2 separate regions of the Homo sapiens genome follow, and region 1 is linked to region 2. The links are contacts of gene promoters, found by promoter capture Hi-C in blood cells and fetal thymus (Javierre and others, 2016). All regions are on one chromosome and are shown on one strand. The core of a region is centred on a gene start or on the middle of the fragment in contact, and the rest is flanking DNA. Distances in the headings are between cores, read along the strand shown. Region 1 overlaps GCLC-AS1 (GCLC antisense RNA 1). Region 2 holds the start of GCM1 (glial cells missing transcription factor 1).

Region 1 (6,863 bases), core at 4,361-6,860, 290 kb before region 2:
GCTTCCTCTGGTCTTTGCTGGATTGCAGACTCCACTGAGCATCTGCCACATATTTCCTCTTTATAAATTTTCTTTATAAATTACCCAACCTCAAGTATTTCCTTATTGCAACACAAACACATATATATATATTTATATACACATAAACACACATATATACAAATATAGGAATACATCCATACAAATATATATGGCCCTCCGGCCTAGGTGACCAACACTTAAGTGTTTGGTGCAGGGCCAACCCACCCACTTTATAACAGGCTCCGATGGCTCTTAACTTGGTGTATCCACTTGGAGAAGCACAGGAATTCAGAAATACAATGACCTCTACCCAATCTGTCCCTCTCCTAACGTTGCTGCACACCACCATGTTAGGTGTGCAGCCCGGGCACACAACCCGGGCACAGCCATGTCCTCCACAACCCATGTAGGAAGTAAAGCAAGAGCTCTTCTGCCCTTATTCTCCTCAATTGATCTGACATGTCTTCCTCTCTTAGGACATGTGTCCAGTGATTTACTCTTCTACTATGTTGCCCAGTTCTTCTTCCCACAGTCTCCCAGGACTGGAAAGAGTGAATTTACCCTGGTTCTCCTTCTGTCTGGCTGGGAGTTCTCTAAGGTAACATGCTATCATCTGTCTCTGATTCCTGTCCCTTGGTATCCTTGTTCCTTGTGGCAAAATCCTATCCTGAATGTCAGTTGCTGATTATTAATGCTGTCTTGGCAGAAACAATATGCTTCTACTGTTTTCTTTGAGTTCTTACCATTTTTTATGTTTAGCTCTTTAAGCCATATGAACTTTTGTATATTGTATGAATCAAGGATATAACTTTCTATTTTTCTCCATGGATAGCTACTTGCCACTGTACCGTTTACTGAATCCAAACCCCACTGATTTTTATCACAGATGAATTTTCCATTAATACATTGATCTGTTTCTAGATTTGTTCCTCTAGCTCTGCAATATCATGGTAAGTAATTGTAGGGAATGTTCTGAGTCATTTTTCCTAAGTTGGGTTTTGTCCTTTGCCTGCTATATTCCTTTTCACCATATATATTTGTATGGATGTATTCCTATATTTGTATATACATGTGTGTGTATACATGTATGTATGTATATGTATGTCTGTTTTGTGTTGCTATAAAGGAATACTTGAGGCTGGGTAATTTATAAAGAAAAGAGGTTTATTTGACTCATAGTTCTGTAGGCTATACAAGAAGCATGGCTCTGGCATCTGCATCTGGTGAGGACCTCAGGCTGCGTCCATTCGTGGTGGAAAGCAAAGGGCAGCCAATGTTTGCAGAGATCACATGGCAAGAGAAGAAGCAAAGAGAGATGGGGAGAGGTGCCATGCTCTCTTTAACAACCATCTCTTGTGGGAACCAATATTGTAAGAACTCACTCAATCATTCCCCTGCTGCCAGAGAAATCATTAACCTGTTCATGAGGGGTCCACCCCCATGACCAAAACACCTACCATTAGGTCCCACCTCCAACACTGGGGATCTAATTTCAACATGAGATCTGGAGGGGAAAAACATCCAAACTATAGTAATGTATACACATATAGATGTAAGTGTGTGTGTCTATATGTCTTGCAAAATTTCCATGTATTTTCTTTCATTTTGCTAATGCTTGGAAGCTCTGCTAGATAATTCCATTTGTTCTTACATAATATATGTGATTTCTTTATGTTCTTTTCACTATATTTAACAGTATTTTGCTTCCCTGAATCTACATATTGATAGCCCACTCTCATTTTCTATCATCTAAAGAATGATATTTGGGGTAGTGAAGGACAATTGTTCTCACCTGAGATTTTTTTACAGTTGTTATAGTATCTGGGTTCCACCTCCTCTTCTGGGATATAGGTGACTGTCCTATTACAAGACTCTTTCACCTGCAGAGTGGGAAGGAGTGAAACAGCCTATTCCCATTGGCTTCACTTTAAAGTGAGTGGATGAGAGCCTGGGGTACCCTGAATGCCAGAATGAGAAGGACTTTATCGGGAATATCAAGTCCACACTAGCTGCCCCAGTTTATCCCCGTTGATTTGTTCTATTACTTAAGGAAAAATCCTTCCAGTCCACTTTTGACCAAGGAATGAATACCCAGTTGCTGTTGAGGTTGATGAAGGAGAAAGGGTAGGTATGTGGAGCCACATAATCTGTATCTGAATCTTCAATCAGTCCCATTGATTTCCACCCCACCTGTCAACTCAGACTTTTGAATCTGGAAGTTCTATGTAGTCTGCTGGGTAGATCAACTGCCTCTTGTATTTATGTTAGTGTTAATTTCCTTGACTCATCTTTATTATTAAATATTTGCTTTCTGGGTGTGCCCTATCTTGTTGTGGGCTTATACTTTTTAAAAAAATTTTGTTTATCATCATTTTAATGGGAGTCTCAGTAGGAAGAGTAGATAAATGTTTGTGCTTAATTAACCACCTGAATTGAAAGCATTTCCCTCTGGTTTACACATTTGATAATTCTTCAGAACTGTGGGTCTGTTCACGGTGTTCTTTTGGTTTCCGGCATTTGATGGAGATATCTATAGACATTGTAGATGTAGATATAGATACACTTTCCCCTGTGACTTCATAGAATGAACCCAAGGGGAAACTCATGTACGTTCAATCTGTGTCTTTTTTTTTTTTTTTTTTTTTTTTAGATGGAGTTTCACTCTTTTTGCCCAGGCTGGAGTGCAATGGCGCAATCTCGGCTCACCGCAACCTCCGCCTCCCGGCTTCAAGTGATTCTCCTGCTCAGACTCCCAAATATCTGGGATTACAGGCATGCGCCACCATGCCTGGCTAATTCTGTGTTTTTAGTAGAGATGGGGTTTCTCCATATTGGTCAGGCTGGTCTCGAACTCCCAACCTCAGGTGATCCGCCTGCTCGGCCTCCCAAAGTGCTGGGATTACAGGCGTGAGCCACCATGCCCAGCCTCAATCTGTGTCTTAATCCAGCCTCTCTAGCTATCTTTCATTAAGAAGCAACCCCCTCAGGATCTGTATTTCCGTGATTATGTTTTAGGGACTAATTGAGCCTGCGACACACCTTCTTTCTTGACCTCAAGCTGGATTTCAATACCAATGATCTCAAGAACTGACTATTGGAAGGAGACTCCCTGACACCTCTGACCACCCCGGGAATCATGTAGCTTGCAGCCTGTCACCACAAGCCTCCTGGTGGGAGTCAGGAGTGTATGGTATGAATACCAACACCTGCTGGAGATGGCACATATGCTTAAAGCTAACTTTCCCCATCAAACTTTCCTCCTCCACCAACAACATCACTGAAAGGACAGAATCCCATATCCTAGATGCTCCTTTGACACAAAAACCTGGAGAAATCACTGGGAGTAGTTCCTTCTTTCCTCTTGTTCAAACACTCACTCATCCCAAACCAAGTCTTCACCTTGAACCCAAATGCTAAATCAGGTTCCTTCTAATCTGGCAGTGTCTCTACCACATGCGCTAAATTCCAATAGAAGTATAGCCTGTTTTTGAAAGTAGGGTAAAAATAGATCCTATTTTTAGGATAAAAATAAATCAGGGTAAAAATATTTAAAAGCAATCTTTCTAATTACCATATTTTATAAAAGACACAGAGCAAGTGTGAAGATGCTTGTTTGTGAAGTGATGTGCAGCTATTGATGAGGGGCAGGGCAGACCCCTTGCCCTTGCCTGGGCTCCAGGTCCACAGTATAGGGGTAAGAGCTCGAGCTCTGGGGTCAGACTGTAAGAATCTTGATCTGCTTCTTATTGTCTGGTTTTAGACAAGTCACTTAACTTCACTAAGCCTAAGCCTTAGTTTCTTCATTTGCGAAATGGAAGTAATAACAGTAACTGTCATTAAATTCTCACTCCACTCCTTACCCAAGAATTTATTTCAAATGGACAAAGCTGAATGTTTACCCAAAACAACTATAAAACCAGCAAAGTAACTACAGGTGAACATTTTAAATTCTTGAGAAAAGGAGGACACTAAGCATTTCAGCTATTGATTAAGCAAAAACTTCATGGCTCAAAACAACCACCATATTTGTAACCACGATTCTGCAACTGGACTGGCCTCTAGTGGGAAGCACTTTGCTGGTGTTGCCAGTGGTCACTCAACTCAGGTGTGGAAATCTCAATGGTTTCATTCACATGTCTGGTGCCTCCACGAGGAGGGCTGGAAAAGCTGCGACCTAGTCAGATATGCCCCTCTTTCTCTCATAGCATGGAGTCTCAACATGTCTGGACCTCTTTAGATGTTGGCTCAAGTCTCGGTGATAGAGCATTCCAAGAGGAGACGTTTCAAGGTGTAAGTTTCAGTGTGTAAGTTTCAACGTGTAAGTGCTTATCAAGCTTTTTCCTTGCATCATGCTTTGCTAATTTCTCTTTGGCCAAAGAAAGCTTCATGGCCAAGTTGCAGTGGGAGGGGACCACAAAAGGGCATGGATGCTTGGAGGCATGATTCATTGGGAAACATTAATGTAACATTCTTCTACACTAAGGCAAGAAATGAAATAGAAAACCATTTTTTAAAAAAAAAAACATGTATTTGACCACATGCATTTAAAAATTTGTCTTTGGAAAAACATCATTATTTAAATTGAATGAAGGAAATATATACATCTTTCATATGCAAAAAGTCTTACAAATTAATAAGAAAGCATTCAGTCAGAAAATGGGCAAAAGGCAAGAACAATTTCCAAAAGAAGAAAAATGAATTGCCAATAAGCATACAAAAATGTTTCAACCTAACTAGTAATCAAAGAAGTGTACATTTAAAATAATTATATTATTCCATTCCCACATTTCATTGGCAAAGATAATGTGGTAGATTATATTTTTTACCAGTTATTCACTGCCTCTTCCTTTTCAAGGATTATAACTCTCTGCTTCACTGAAATCAGCCTTTGCAGTATGACTTGCTCTGACCAGTGAAATGTAAGCAAGTGTGATATGTGTCATTTCTGAGCAGAGAATTTTTAAGAGTCATTCTGGAGTTTCATTATCCCTCTGCTTCCTTTGGCATCAGACTGAGATGGGGCTGCTCCTTTAGTCTGAGCCCTGAGATCAATGGCACATGGAGAAGAGCTTAAGTCAATCTGCAGCTAACATATGTGAAAAGGAAAAAAATGTTGGTTGTAAGCCACTGCCATTTGCCAGGTCATTAGTTACTGCAGCATAATCTCACAAACACTGACTGACACAAATTACAGCGTTGGCAAGTTCATGAGGAAATGAGTATTCTTGTGACTGTTGGATGGAATAAAATTGGTCTAACCTTTCTAGAGGGCAATTTTTCAAGTGTATCACAGTTACAGTAATTGTAACTTTTGACTCAGTAATATATCTCCTGGAAATTTATTCTAAGACCATACACATAGAAGTACACAAGATATATGCAAAAAGATTCTCACTGCAGCCTTAGTTATTGTGGAAAATAACCTAAATTATTTCTTCAGTACATATCTTATTTGCCTCCACAGGTTTTCTTAGCTGTCTCATTGACCCTGGTTTGCTTTGTTTTACCTAAGCACTTGCTATGACTGACCTGCTAGGTGTAGACCTATAAAAATCTACCTCCTGGGGCCGTCAGCTACACATTTACAGTCTCTGGTCCTTCCTGTCACTTCCAAATTTAGATAGAGAATCTCATTTCAGGACATGGGATGTGGTTTGGCAAGTGACTCCCAAAGATGCTGAGTGATGTGAGGGAGTAAACTTCCTCATGAGACAAAATTTGACCAGTGGAAGAAAGAAGTCAAAAGGAGGCAGCAGATAAATACCTTCCCCTTCTTTCCTTTAAAAGACTGTTCCAAGATAGGATTTCTCCATACGGCCTTTCTGAGCACATAGTGCCTGATCCAGGAAGTGCCCCCGCTAACAGACTTTGCCTCTGAGAGTGTCATCAGGAAGCAAAACACATTGCATGGTGTTGCTCCTTCTCTGCCACTATTCCCTGTATCTTTTCCTCCACTCTTGCTGCCCTAGAATTGCATGTCCCAGTTAAAATCTGGGCTTATACAAGTTGGTTTTGAAAGTTGGTTTTAAAAATCAATTATGCCAACAGCAGCAATTTAAAATGGTGATGTACACCTATATTCACTAACTAGGAAAGAGCTGCGAGTCATAACTTTGGAGGTAAGTTACACTTGATTGCTTCTAGAAGGTAAGAGTTTGAATAGTTTTCATTCTTCTTTTAGTCAGTATGCATTTATTGTTGCACGTTCTCCAGTGAATATGTATTATAGTTATAAACAGAATAGTTTTTTAAGAGCACAAACAGTTCTTACACTAAAATGTTGCCAAAGTTTTGACGCTATATAATTTATTCTAATGAAGAAATTTTAATAAATAAATATATCAATGCTATGTCTACATGGAAGTAATTTTTACATGTGTAAATAGATCCATACATAGTGTACAAAGTACATAAGCCATTTTTGAGGGAACTTTTATCAAATTAATTTCTTTTATATTAGACTGTCTACTGACAAACTGCTTTACTCAGCTTCCAGTTTCAGAAACAACATTTAATAATTGCTTATTCACAAAGAACAGCAGTCCCTTTATTCACTCAAAAATTTTTGGCTTACAGCCTTGTAGGCAGAGTTCACTGCACTATTTATAACTGTCCACACAAATTGGTCATAAAAGGATGGTATTTGGGGTTAGGTCATTCAGTTCCCTGCAGAACTCAGTAATAAACCTAGTAGCTACACTTAGAAATGCTACTTTATTATTTATATTTAGAGTTTTTTTCTATTTAAAGTACAACAGTTTATTTAAATCAGCAACTTATATTTGAGTAAAGCTTTTTTTTCTGTTTCCAGCAGGTAGTTTACTTAATATTCATGTGCAATA
Region 2 (6,831 bases), core at 2,771-5,270:
CCCAAATAATTATCCTGCTTAAAATGCCTAAAGCACCACTATTGATGAAAAAAAAACCAGAATGATCTCAATAGGCAGGCCTCAGAGTGTCAGGGAATGCAAAAGTAGAGATACTGAGAAATCCAATCATTAGTGGTTGAGGTCAGTTACCAAGTAATAGGGCCTCTAGCCACCTGGCTTAAGGCAGGATTCCTGTCTCTAGGGGAGGAGGCACAGGGTGGAAAGAGTGATGTAGAACTCAGATTTTATAGGAGTGGAGACAAAGACTCCAGATGCTGAACACATAGGGCTCTTCATGCAGTACCGTGGTCAACAGGCATGTCTCTGAGTTCTACCCCAGCTCTGCTACTTACATTTCTGTGTAAAGCTATTTGTCTGAGCCTTGATCTCCTTCTCCACAAAGGAGGCATAATAAAAATAGTATCTATCTGATAGGGATGCTGTATGGATCAAGAGTGATAATACAGACAGGTGATTAAGCATGGCGCCTGATTCATTGTAAATGTGCAGTCAAGGGAAGCTACTATGATTATTGTTATTAATAACAATGACAGAGATCCAATTAGGAGAATTTGGCCAGGTAAGGTGGCTCACGCCTATAATCTCAGCACTTTGGGAGGCTGAGGCAGTGGATCACTGGATCCCAGGAGTTCGAGCCCAGCCTGGCAACACAGTGAGACCCTGTCTCTACAAAAAGTTTTTAAAATTAGCTGAGTGTGGTAGCATGTGCCTGTGGTCCCAGCTACTTGGGAGGCTGAGGTGGGAGGATAGGTTGAGCCTGGGAAGAGGAGGCTACAGTGAGCTGAGATTGTGCCACTGCACTCCAGTCTGGGGGACAGAGCAAGACCCTGTGTCAAAAAACAAAACAAAACAAAAACAATTAGGAGAATTTGGGTAATAAGTTGGGACCTTGGCCTCAAGAAAGCAAAAATACCCTTACTAGTCTGGACATCATGTCACACCTCTATCAGAGTGTGAAGGCAGAGCTTCTCAGCGCCCTCCTGTGTCCGAGTAGGGTTGGTGCTTGGGACAAGGATGGCTGTGATGTTGCTGCTGGAAACTCAGCAAGTCTTTCTATGAGGAGAGGGAAAGTAGAAGATCCCAACTTGGCCGTGAAAGAACTAGCAGCCTCACTGGGGAGCCAGAACCAACACTCATCAACAATGAAAAGCAATAGCCTGATGTGGTGGCGGGCACCTGGAGTCCCAGCTGCTTGGGAGGCTCAGTGGGGAGAATGACTTGAACCTAGGAGTTTGAGTCTACCCTGGACCACACAGGGAAACCGTATCTCCAAAAAAAGCAAAACAAAACCAATCAACCAAACAAACAAAACAAAACAACTAAAGGCAATATCACGTAAAATAGGATTGCAAATAAAAATAATATCTTTTGTTCTATATGGGAACAAAAAGATATGGGAAAACAAAAGTTTGAAAGGACATGCCTGACATGTTAACAGTGGAAACCTATGGGAGATGAGAATATGACTTTTTTATAAATCATGAATTTATTTTGTAATTTAAAAACACTGTTAGATCCAAGTGATACAAGACAGCATATAATTCACAGTTAAGAGTTCAACATGGCCAGGCACCGTGGCTCATACCTGTAGTTCCGGCAATTTGGGAGGCCAAGGCAGGCGATTTCTTGAGCCCAGGAATTCAAGACCAGCCTAGACAACATGGTGAAGTCCCATCTTTACAAAAAATACAAAAATTAGCGGGACGTGGTGGTGAGCACCTGTAGCCCCAGCTACTTGGGATGCTGAGGCGGGAGGATCACTTGAGCCCAGGAAAGCGAGACCATAGTGAGCCATAATCACACCACTGTGCTCCAGCCTGGGTGACAGAGTAAGACCTTGTCTCAAAAAAGAAACAAAAGAGCATCACAGAAATGAGGAATCATGTGTTCTTGAATAGTGTGGGAAGCTCTCATAAGGAGGTGGCATTTTGGGGATCCTGAAGGGTAGACAGGGTTCAGATATATGGATGTGAAAAATACACTAGAGAATAGACCTAAGTAAGTGAATAAGCACAACAGGTGTGCCAGTGATTGACTTATTGCCTGTCGACACTAAATCCACTCTTTACTCCGCTTGTGATTCTGGACCTAGACCCTGTAGACATCCTCTTTCACCAGCTGGCATAATTTTAGGCTTTGTCCTGATACAATGTATCTGATGGATGGAGAAATGTCCTCCTGACCAACAAAGGGATTACAGAGAGGAGACCAAGACTGGCCAGATAAAGTACAATAAGATCAAGCAGGGTTGGTCAGGCGTGGTGGCTAACGCCTGTAATCCCAGCACTTTGGGAGGCCGAGGCGGGTGGATCACCTGAGTTCGGGAATTCAAGACTAGCCTGACCAACATGGAGAAACCCCATCTCTACTAAAAATACAAAATTAGCCGAGCGTGGTGGTGTGCGCCTGTAATCCCAGCTACTCAGGAGGCTGAGGCAGGAGAATCGCCTGAACTCGGGAGGCAGAGGTTGTGGTGAGCCGAGATAGTGCAATTACACTCCAGCCTGGGCAACAAGAGCAAAACTCCGTTTCAAAAAAAAAAAAAGATGAAGCAGGGTCTTAAACTTCAGGCAGGAAAGGAATTTGTTCATGAACTGAAAGACGAATGAGAAATCTATTAGGGGCCGCCGAATGCAACTATGAGGCTTTCCAAGCCTTTTGCCTTCTCGCCTTCTCATCTCTGCCTCCTAAGCCTCATCCTTGAAAGTCTGGACCTTCCTGACAGGTACTGATCCCTCGTCATGTTGTCCAGGATATTGTCACTCCCCGAAACACCCTCTTCCAGTCCTTCACGCCTTGATAAATATCTATTTGTCCTTCAAAAGGCTCATCGAGCATTATTTTGGTGGGTTTCCTTTGGTTCTCCTCCCTCCAGCTTAATAGCCTTCTCATTTATATTACTTTTATTCTATACATCAAATTAAATCGGCCTTATTTAGTAGCTTTAATCATCTTTTCTACTAGAATGAACTTCTTAATGGCTTTCATTCTCTCTTGTGTTGCCAAGGCCTGGCAGACTACCTAGAACAAAACATATGAACTGAACTGATTTAGGCTGTACTGCGGATGTCTCTAAAAGGAAGAATAGCACTGAGGGTATCTCTAGAAGAAATAATTGGTTTTTGTTTGTTCGTTTTTTTTTGTTGTTTTGTTTTGTTTTGTTTTTGTTTTTTTGAGATGGAGCCTCGCTCTGTCACCCAGGCTTGACTGCAGTGACGCAATCTCAGCTCACGCAACCTCCGCTTCCCGGGTTCAAGCAATTCTCTGCCTCAGTCTCCCAAATAGCTGGGATTACAGGCGCTCGCCACCACACCTGGCTAATTTTTGTATTTCTAGTAGAGACGGGGTTTCACCATCTTGGCCAGGCTGGTTTTGAACTCCCAACCTTGTGATCCGCCCACATCGGCCTCCCAAAGTGCTAGGATTACAGGTGTGAGCCACCACGCCCGGCCAAGAATTGTATATTTTTAGGGGATCAGAACACTTAGAATTAGTGGGACATTATTGCTAGGGTTAAGATAGCATTTCAGTATTTCTGGTATAGAGGATGTTGGCTATCCACTGTCTATTCCAGTAAATTTCCTCACCATAATATCTCTCTATCTCTGTCTGTCTGTCTTCTCTCTCTTGCACACATGAGAGAGAACTATTACCTGCCGGGTAAATAGTGGGAGAATTAGGACCTACTGTGAATCGTCTGCCTGGGGCCCAACCTGTAACATCACAAGAAGAAAAACATCTGTACTTCCTTATGAGGTTCTTTTCAATGTCCATTTTAGTTCAAATGTCCTCATAACATAAAGGGAGGGGGAAGTTCAGAGACACATCATAGAATATTCATCACATTGCTGGCATTCTGGGAAGAATCAGGCTGGTTAAGTGACTCCCAGGCTGCTCTTACCTATCCAGAGCCTAGAGCATCTAGATTTTGATTGGACCATTGCCAGAACTCATTAGCATAGTGTACCCTGACCTGGAATAGGGAACAGCGTCTGCTCAGAAAATGACCAGAGCCTGCTGGGACTTGAACCAGCAGTAAGATTTTCACGACACAGTGCTGTCTGCTTCTCCGTAAGAAGTTAGAAGGTAAGAAAGCCAGAAATCCCGTGGAGAGGCAAATGTAAGGGATGTGGCAACGACCACTCTATTCCTACAGGGTTTCATTTGTTCTAGTTCATTTTTCTGTAGAAATGATGAAAATTGAATATACTTTGCGCAAGTTGCTTTAAAAAAAGGAGTCTTGACAAGTGTAGTTTTTCAATCCTAGAAGAGGAAAACAGAGTTTACTTAAGGGCTGTAAAATGGTTTTTTCTTCTTTTCTATGTTTTGTTCTTAACTTTTAGGGAAATATTAAATTAATGCTCATTCGCTTAGCAAATGTTAATATCGAGAGAAAAATCTAAAATGTAACATAGTTGTTCTGTAATAAAATTTTCTTTATTATTCTTCCCTTAATTTAAAAACAAAATAATTATGTCTATATTGCCTAGGCTTTATAACAATGTTTTTGATTTTTGAAAATATGAATCTTATTTGCCAAGGTTTTTAAAAAGTAGATCTATTCCAATTAGTTATAACAAAATTTGCACCATCAGAGACAATATCGTTACTGTTCAGGGTAAGTACACGGAACTGCTGCTTGGTATCTGCATCTTCTATACCTGTTATTTAAGTCCTTTGAATTAGAGTCAATTTGCGGCATCATTTCTTCAGTAACACAATGTTTCTTTCCTAAACATAGAATTTTACTTAAAATCCATGAGGATTTAGTCTTGAAAATCAACATTCAGTTGGGGAACAGAAACTTCGTGCTCTGCAACCACTAGGTTGTAGCTCAGTATGGGTATGTGGAACAGACAGGAAGAGACTCTGATTAGCTTGTCATTTAATGGTCAAGAACTTTATTTATAAAGACTATACTTTCAGGGATCATTTCTATAGTTTGTTACTAGAGAAATTTCTCTGGACATCTAGAGCACACACAAAAAAGAAAAAAGGAACTTCATTCTTATGTTCAGGTCAACGGTCTTTTATATACATACACTTTCCCTTGGTAGAGTTCAGTGATTGACAAGTATTAGGATTATATAACACTAAATAACTAAAGAACAGGCCGGGCACAGTGGCTCATGCCTGTAATCCCAGCACTTTGGGAGACAGAGACGTATGGATCACCTGAGGAAAGGAGTTCAAGACCGGCCTGGTCAACATGGTGAAACCCCATCTCTACTGAAAATACAAAAATTAGCTGGGTGTGGTGGTGCGTGCCTGTAATCCCAGCTACTTGGGAGGCTGAGGTAAAAGAATCACTGGAGCCCCAGAGGTGGAGGCTATGGTGAGCTGAGATTGCGCCACTGCACTCCAGCCTGGGTGATAAGAGTAAGACTCCATTAAAAAAAAAAAAAAAAAAAAAACAATAAAAACTAAAGAAAAGAGTTCATGGGTCTCGCCAAAGCTTAGACTATTAATCTACCTTATAGTTTGAGTTCGCTATTAAATAGCTCTACATAACATCATTATGTCTCTTGTTTTTATAAGAGTACCAATAAATGAAATGTTATACATGTGAACATGTTTCACTTCATATCGTACTAACAAGTAGCTTTCATCTGCAAAATTATTCATTTTTTTCCTCAGGGTAGAACACTTCAAATTTTCTTTCTTTTTTTCTTGGTAAACCTCCTTTAACCAATTATAGTTAGAAATTAGAGCACTATTTCTCGTGAGGGAAGAAATGCCATTTGAACAAACTTTTATTTATTCATTCATTTATTTATTTATTCATTCATTCATTTATTTATTTTTTGAGACAAGGTCTCACTCTGTCACCCAGGCTGGCATGCAGTGACACAATCTTGGCTCACTGCAGCCTCAACCTCCTGGGCTCGGGTAATCCTCCACCTCAGCCTCCCAAAGTAGCTGGGACTACAGGTGTGCACCACCATGCCCAGCTAGTGATTTGTACTTCTTGTATAAACACGGTTTCTGCATGTTTCTCAGGCTGGTCTTGAACTCATAGACTTAAGTGATACATGTGTCTTGGCCTCCCAAAGTATTGGGATTACAGGCTGCTAGCACCTAATGGGTAGAGACCAGGGATGCTGCCAAACAGTCTACAACATGAAAAAAGCTCCCCACAACAAAGAATTATCTGGTCCAAAATGTCAATAGTGCCAAACTTAAGAAACCCTGTTTCAGATTAATCAGATATAAGCATATTAGTTGATAATATTTGAAGATATATCGTGCGCACAGGATTTATTGCAGAGACCAAACCTAATCCTTACAGTGATTTGGATTTTCAAATATATTTTTTTTCTGGCCGGGTGCGGTGGCTCACGCCTGTAATCCCAACACTTTGGGAGTCCGAGGCGGGTAGATCACTTGAGGTCAGGAGTTCGAGACCAGGCTGGCCAGCAGAGTGAAACCCCATCTCTACTAAAAATACAAAAATCAGCTGTGCGTGGTGGCACATGCCTGTAATCCCAGCTACTGGGGAGGCTGAGGCAGGAGAGTTGCTTGAACCCAAGAGGCAGAGGTTGCAGTAAGCCGAGATCACTCCATTGCACTCCAGCCTGGGTGAAGAAGTGAGACTCCATCTCAAAAAAAAAAAAAAAAAAAAATATATATATATATATATATATAAAACATATATGTATTTTCCTAGATAAATTCAGTGTGATGTTCCCCTCTTGCAGCTTCAACCACACATTAGCTAATTTATAAAGGCATTTCTATGGAAACAACTCCAAGCCAGTATCCTCCTGCCCTAGCAGGAAAAGTCCTAGCCATTGGTTACAGATGACAACT

Evidence for each region. Contacts are between HindIII fragments. The CHiCAGO score rates a contact against its expected background, and 5 or more counts as called.
Region 1: a fragment that was not itself captured here is called in contact with the fragment with the promoter of GCM1 in region 2 in 17 of 17 cell types (activated CD4 T cells, total CD8 T cells, total B cells and 14 more); the score reaches 13.6 in activated CD4 T cells.

What each region holds. Positions count from the first base shown.
Region 1 is chr6:53,439,510-53,446,372 of GRCh38, reverse strand. All of the region lies in intron 1 of GCLC-AS1 (GCLC antisense RNA 1), which reads right to left. Among named protein-coding and RNA genes, the nearest start is that of GCLC-AS1, 11 kb to the right of the region's middle. The HindIII fragment of the contact is 2,410 bases long and covers 4,406-6,815 here.
Region 2 is chr6:53,146,030-53,152,860 of GRCh38, reverse strand. GCM1 (glial cells missing transcription factor 1) reads left to right here and starts at 4,020. Exons shown (of 6, transcript NM_003643.4): 1 at 4,020-4,107. It also overlaps the pseudogene LOC124901513. The HindIII fragment of the contact is 12,096 bases long and covers 1-5,478 here.